2 separate regions of the Homo sapiens genome follow, and region 1 is linked to region 2. Evidence: promoter capture Hi-C in 16 types of primary human blood cells and fetal thymus (Javierre and others, 2016). All regions are on one chromosome and are shown on one strand. Each heading gives the region's core, a stretch centred on a gene start or on the middle of the fragment in contact. The rest is flanking DNA. Distances are from core to core; before and after follow the strand shown. Region 1 holds the start of LOC124903874 (a long non-coding RNA gene). Region 2 holds the start of C1QB (complement C1q B chain).

Region 1 (3,402 bases), core at 288-2,787, 240 kb after region 2:
TGCCCAGTACCTGGAGTAGGATCTACCTGGAGAGGTTTGTCCACTCATTCATTCACTTTTGCATTCATCCATCCATTTAATGAACATGGGAAAGGGCTTACTCTATAATGGTTTTTTTGTTTGTTTGTTTTTTGGGGGTTTTTTTTGTGTGTGTGACAACAGAGTTTTGCTCTTGTTGCCCAGGCTGGAGTGTCATGACGCAAGCTCACTGCAACCTCCGTCTCCCGGGTTCAAGTGATTCTCCAGCCTCAGTCTCCCAAGTAGCTGGGATTACAGGCATGTGCCACCACGCTCGGCTAATTTTTTGTATTTTTAGTAGAGATGGGGTTTCACCATGTTGGTCAGGCTGTTCTCGAACTCCTGACCTCAGGTGATCCAGCCCTCGGCCTCACAAAGTGCTGGGATTACAGGCATGAGCCACTGCGCCTGGCCTCTATAATGGTTTTGATGATAACAGTGATGGTGGGAGCCAACATTTATTAAGTCTTTTTATGTGCTAGAGACTGTGCTAAAAAGCTTTACCTGTATTTTCCTTTTAAATCTCCAAAACCACCTTTTATGGTACCTACTTGCATTAACCCACTTTAGAGATGAGAAAACTGAGGCCTGGAAGGCTTAAGACATGCACCCAATGCCTCACTGGCCCTAAGCTACCAGGTAAGTGCTCAGACTAAGGACTAGTGGATTTCATACTGAATCTCTTCCCATCGTCCCTTGGTGCTTAATCACTGTTCAGATAAAGGTACCCCAGGGAGAGGAGAGACCGAAGGGAATTGGCGTCTCTCGGGCATCTCCAATGTGCCAGGCACTACCTGATCAAATTTTATCTTCACAACAGCCCTGAGAGCTTGGCATTTATTGTTCCATTTATTTGGAATAGAAAACAGGGGCTCAGGGAAGTGAAGGGTCTTTCCCAAGGTCACAGTGCAATCAAGTGAAAAAACAAGGATATGAAGCAGCTTCCAGCTGGGTACAGTGACTCATGTCTGTAATCCCAGCACTTTGGGAAGCTGAGACGGGTGGATCATTTGAGTCCAGGAGCTCCAGACCAGCCTGGGTAACATGATGAAACCCTGTCTCTACCAAAAATACAAAAATTAGCCGGGTGTGATGGTATGTGCCTGTAGTCCTAGCTACTAGGGAGGCTGAGGTGGGAGGATCGCTTGTGTCTGGGAGGTCGAGGCTGCAATGGGCCATAATCGCGCCACTGCACTCCAGCCTGGGTCACAGAGCAACACCCTGTCTCAAAAATATAGTCAGACAGAGAGAGACAAAAATGAAAAATGAAACAGCTTCCAATCCCTTGCCCAGCTTTAATGAAGGGAGCTGCTCAGGTTGGTTCCTCACTCTCATGAGGCACCTATGGAACCAGCAGCCGCCTCTCATCTCCCTCACATAATCAGGGGCTTAAAACCTCCAACATCTCTAAGTGGGCACCCACCCAGTTTACAGAATCTAACCTGTTTTCAAGTCTGAGCAGAGCCCATGTTGTACAGTGGCACTTAGTGTCCATGTCTGGTACTGCATCCCAGGTTTTGTAGATTTTTGAATACCAGTTTAATGTTCATTCATTATGTCAATAATTAGTGAACACTTACTGTGTGGCAAACCTGGGGGGATCCAGAGATGAGCAAGACATGGTCCCTGGCCTCAGGAAATCCACATCCTTAAAGAAGATGGACAGGTATATTAGGACAATAGGTGGGAGGGGAGACAATTTGGACCCACAACCCCTGGCTGGGACATCTGGGAAGTCTCCCCAGCAGAGGTGGCACTTGCGCTGAGTCTTGAACGATGAGTAGGACACTGCAAGACAAGTGAGGAAAGGGTATTTCAGACAGGGGCAACAGTGCTTGCAAAAACTCAAGAGTGTCCATGGAAGGTAGAGTTGCTAGATAAAATAGAAGACACATGATTACATTTGAATTTTTTAAAAATAAATGTTTTAGTACAAATATGTCCCAAATATTGCACGGGGCGTACTTATACCAAAATGTATTTGTTGTTCATCTGAAATTTAAATTTGACTGAGCAGCATCCTATATTTGTGTTTGCTAAATCTGGCAGCTCTACCAAGGAAGGGGGAAAGAGTTAGGGATGGCAGGAACCTAGGAAACATTAGGGATGTTGCAGGAGAGACTGCAAAATGGTGGGTCATGAAGGGTCTGGAATGCCAGGCTAAGGAGTCGGCCTTCACCCTGTGGGCACTGGAGAAGGACTTTGTGTGAGGGACCCCAAACTTGGTACAGGGGAACAAACACAAGCCCTCCCTCATGGGCTTAGAGTTAAGGGGGCGAGAGGAGCCTCAGCTGGAAGTTGAGGGGGCATAGCAGAAACCCCCTCCTGTGGCACCCACAGCAAGTGCTCTGGGACTGAGAAGGAAGAGGTGCATCTGGCTGGGATGTCAAGGAGGCTTCCTGGAGGAGGAGGCAGATGATCTGGCTTGGCAAAAGAGACTTCCTCTCTGCTGCTGCCCCACCCAGCTATCCCTGCCTCCCCCTGTTATGGGGGTGGTAGAGACACATCTTCAAGTCAGCCCCCTTCATATCCCCTACATCCCAAGCTTTTTCTCCTCTCCTTTCCTCTGAACCTGCTGCCCCTTCTGCCAGGCATGCACATCTTTGTCTGGGTGGTTCCTGTTTGTTCTTTGAGATCCCATTCCAGTGACCCCCACTCACGAGGGAGCTTTCCTGACTTCACCTGGTAGCCCCTGATATGGTTTGGCTGTGTCCCCGCCCAAATCTCATCTTGAATTGAAGTTCCCATAATCCCCACCTGTTGTGAGAGGGACCTAGTAGGAGGTAATTGAATCACGGGGGTGGTTACCCCCATGCTTTTCTCATGATAGTGAGTGAGTTTGCACAAGATCTGATGGTTTTATAAGGGGCTTTTCCCCCTTTGCTCGGCACTTCTCTCTCCTGCCACCATGTGAAGAAGTATGTGTTTGCTTCTTCTTCTGCCATGGTTGTAAGTTTCCTGAGGCCTCCCCAGGCATGAGGAACTGTGGGTCAATTTCACTTCTTTCCTTTATAAATTACCTAGTCTTGGGTATGTGTGTATAGCAGCATGAGAAGGGACTAATGCAGCCCCCGTCCCAGACCAGGTCACATGTCCCTCGGTATGTGCTTACCCTATCAGTGTGAGCCTGTTATACCTATTGATTCATTTTATTATCTGAACAAACTCTGAGGTAGCTACTGTTACTATCCCCCTTTTACAGATGAAGACACAGAGAAGTTAAGGAACTTGCCCAAGGTCACAGAGGTCATATATACTAGAGCCAGGATTTGAACCCAAGAAGTCTGGCTCCAGCTTGTGATCTTAACCTCCATGCTATAAAGCCTGTAATAACATTGCACGCACTGAATCTTCATTGTTTTGGGAAGGTTTTCAAGGGCTCCG
Region 2 (3,538 bases), core at 1,019-3,518:
ATTTTGTAGGTACAGAGACCAGCTGGCTCCCATTAGCGGTCAAGGCCCAGGGACCCCTCAGCTCCTGATCCCCAAGTCCAGGCCTCCTCCTAATCCAGGCATGGCTTCTTTGCTCCTGGGTTCCAAGAATTCCATCTTCTCTTCATATAAGTAATACCGTTCCCATGTTTGCAGTGGGTGCCCACCAAGGGCTGGGCACTCACCTGGCCCTGGACATGGCAGGGGGACCTCGCTGGCCCCCAAAACAGCCCCAGGAGATAGGCGTTCATGCTTCCCATTTCTACACGAGGAAACTGAGGCCAGTAAACATTCCCGTGGCCACATAGTTAGCAAGACGAAGAGCTGGGATTCAAACTGCCAAAGTCCGTGCTCCTAACCCACCTCTGCTGCTTCCTGTTCTTAGCCTCACTGCTTCTACCCCAAATTGACATCCATCTTTTCCCATTGCCCTTAGCCACCTAAGAATTAGAGGCCCAGAGGCTGGGCATGGTGGCTCACGCCTGTAATCCCAGCACTTTGGGAGGCCGAGGCAGGCAGATCAACTTGAGGTCAGGAGTTTGAGACCGGCCTGGCCAACATGGTGAAACCCTGTATCTACTAAAAAAAAATACAAAAATTAGCTGGGCTTGGTGGCATGCACCTGTAGTCCCAGCTACCTGGGAGGCTGAGGCAGGAGAATCGCTTGAACTTGGGAGGAAGAGGTTCTAGTGAGCTGAGGTCGCACCACTGCACTCCAGCCTGAGCAACAGACTGAGACTCCATCTCAAGAAAAAAAAAAAAAAAAAGAACTAGAGGCCCAGAGCCACTCGGCTTTGGGAATGCTCAGAAGCCCTCAACTTGCAACCTACTAACTCGTTTCTCCCTTTGTGGAATCCAGTGTTTCTTCTCTTCACCCTAGCCTGGGTCCCTTCGGGACTATAGTTGACTGAGCTCAGAGACCTTTTGGTTTTATCAAACTTATCTTTCCCTCCTGTTCACCCATTGCAGTTAACACTTAATTTCCACCAAGCTGCATCCACAAGCCCAGTGAATTTCCATCTCCAAGCACAGATGTCAAGAGGGCCTCCAGCTCCTGGTGCTTGCTAGTCATCATGTCGTCTGAGACGCAGCCACAGGGAGAGACTGATATCCTAGTGCCAGGGATGCCGGCTTCCAGGTCTGCATCTGCCACCTCCATGAGGCATCGGCCCCAGCAGTCACGTCTTTCTGTGACATTTATCACAGAAGCAATGAAGCCTCATGTCATTCCGTGTTTAACACCAGTCTCCCCCCGTAGAAGGGAGGCCCCATGGGGGCAGGGACCATGGCTGATTTGCTAAGAGCTCTCTCTTCAGTGCACATGGAAGCAAACACTAAATATTTGTTAAATGGTGGGTCTCCCCTCTGGGCCTCAGTTTCCTCGTATATAAAATGAGGAGGATGGGCCGAGTAACCTCAGCCCCTCTCCGGCCCTAACTTGGCGTGATTCCAGGATCGAGAAGAAGCAACAGGCCCCTGCCTGGGCCTATTATTGTCATCAGCGTCCAGCCCTGCTGGAAGCAGAGGGAGGGGTATCAATAAATAATGAACACATTTAAAATTCATTATGAGATTATTTTCTGAGAACAGGGAAAGAGCAGGGGCACAGAATGGGAAGGAAGCAGAAGAGATGAGCCCAGAAAGGGGAAGCCTGGGACATGAAGTGATATTAACAATGAACACGTGCACAGCCCTTTACAGTTTACCCCCAGACACTTCCTCCCCCATCATTTCCTCCATTATCCTCCCAGTGGCCTGTGAGATCTGTATCTGTAGAGCAGGTACAATTATGGTCCCATCCTATAGCAGAGAAAATTGGGGCTCCCTTGACTGACAACACATCAACTGGCAAGTGGCAGAGGCGGGATTGGAATCAAAGGCTCTGACTGTAAGCCAGCACTCAGGCAGCGGGCCCGCCACATGATGCTCACTGAGGAACACCCCTGCCCAGTGTAGAAGAAGATCACGAGGTCAGAGAGCCTGGGAGGGTGAGCTGTGGATGTTCCCCCAGGACAGCGTGTTCTCCCCACAGCTGCTGAGTTGGCAGAACCAAACTTGCCACCCACCCGTCTCATTTACAGTAAATCCAGTGGGTTGCAGAAATAGGACCTGAAACTGCCTGAGGGCAGCAGGGTGGGGGGACAGTGAGGGGACGGGAAAGGGGCCAGCCTGCTGGTCCATGGGAGGGGACCGTCAGGGGAAAGCCCTTCCCGCCTCTGGGGAAGGGAACTTCCGCTTCGGACCGAGGGCAGTAGGCTCTCGGCTCCTGGTCCCACTGCTGCTCAGCCCAGTGGCCTCACAGGACACCAGCTTCCCAGGTGAGGACGGGGCTTGGCGCCTGGGGGAGGCTGGCAGGGCCAATATGGCAGAAAGTGGTGATTCCGTAAGTGTGAGCTTTGCGTCACCTGCCTCGGAGCCAGTTAGGCTGTTTAACAGTGCAGGTAGCTGGGCCCAATCCCAGACCTATGGGACCCAGATCTCTGGGGTGAGTTGGGGAGTCTGCTGCTACCCAGGGCCTAGCGGATGGGCAGGCCACCTAAAGCGGGAGCCTGGCACATAGGAGCTTTGGCATCGCAGAGACTTGAGCTGAGTCTGGCTCTGCACCTTATGTATTGGTTATCTTGGGCAAGTCACCTAACCTCTCTCAGCCCGGCCCCCCTACAGAGAACAGAATCTTTCAGCACTGCTGTGCCTTACAGGAGATCAAGCTTGCAAAAGCTTAGTGCATGCCCTGGCTCAAAATTTATCAGTAAACCAGAGGCAGGAGTGGGATTATAAGCCAGTCGCTCCTGCCCGGCCCAGCATTTCCCCAACACCTTGCTTATTTCCTCATACTCGCTGAGAAAGCTCAGCTTGACTCTTCCAAAGAAATAAGGGGATGTGCAGGTAGAGTTACGATGAGTTCTCAGCTAGTACTGAGTGAGCGCAATGTTTGTGCAGCTGGGGAGTGGGATGTGGCACTGCACGGGGCAGGGGGGACCTTATTTCTTCTAAGCGCCTTCTCCTGTCATCCTTCTGGCAGCCCTGTCAGGTTGAAATCAGCATTGCCAAGAGGCTCAGAGAGGTTAAGGCACTTGCCTGAGGTTATGCAGCCGGTAGCAGATGGGGCTTTAAAGTCAAGTGGGCCTGACTCCATGTTGCGGAAAGGGACTGCTGGACCGAAGGAGATGGAAAGGTCAGAGCCTGGGGGGAGGACAGGAGAAACCGCGCTGGCAATGATGATGGGCTGGCACAGGCAGGAGGCAGTTAAACCAGATGAGTTGTAAGCCCTAACCCAAGGCTGAAACTCGGTGGCTTTTGAAATGGGCTAGAACCAGCACTTTCCCACTCCCCCTGCCCCTGGCTTCCCCAGGAAGCCCAAGTCCTGTCAGTACCCTGCTCCCCACCCTCTCTCCCCACCAACTGGTCACAGCTCTCCACCCCTTGCTGCCTCCAACTGACAGAGCCCCTCCCTCTAAACACAGTCTTTCAAAGGGATTGTCTTTTTTTACTTCTCCAACCATCTTCCCTTCTGTTCAAC

What was found. Contacts are between HindIII fragments. The CHiCAGO score rates a contact against its expected background, and 5 or more counts as called.
Region 1: a fragment that was not itself captured here is called in contact with the fragment with the promoter of C1QB in region 2 in 2 of 17 cell types (M0 macrophages and M2 macrophages); the score reaches 6.2 in M0 macrophages.

Annotation. Positions count from the first base shown.
Region 1 is chr1:22,887,909-22,891,310 of GRCh38, forward strand. The region is part of intron 6 of EPHB2 (EPH receptor B2); the gene reads left to right. LOC124903874 (a long non-coding RNA gene) reads right to left here and starts at 1,652. Exons shown (of 3, transcript XR_007065534.1): 1 at 1,599-1,652. RefSeq lists a silencer at 1,604-1,809. The HindIII fragment of the contact is 2,047 bases long and covers 515-2,561 here.
Region 2 is chr1:22,650,968-22,654,505 of GRCh38, forward strand. C1QB (complement C1q B chain) reads left to right here and starts at 2,269. Exons shown (of 3, transcript NM_001378156.1): 1 at 2,269-2,336. The HindIII fragment of the contact is 5,474 bases long and covers 1-2,724 here.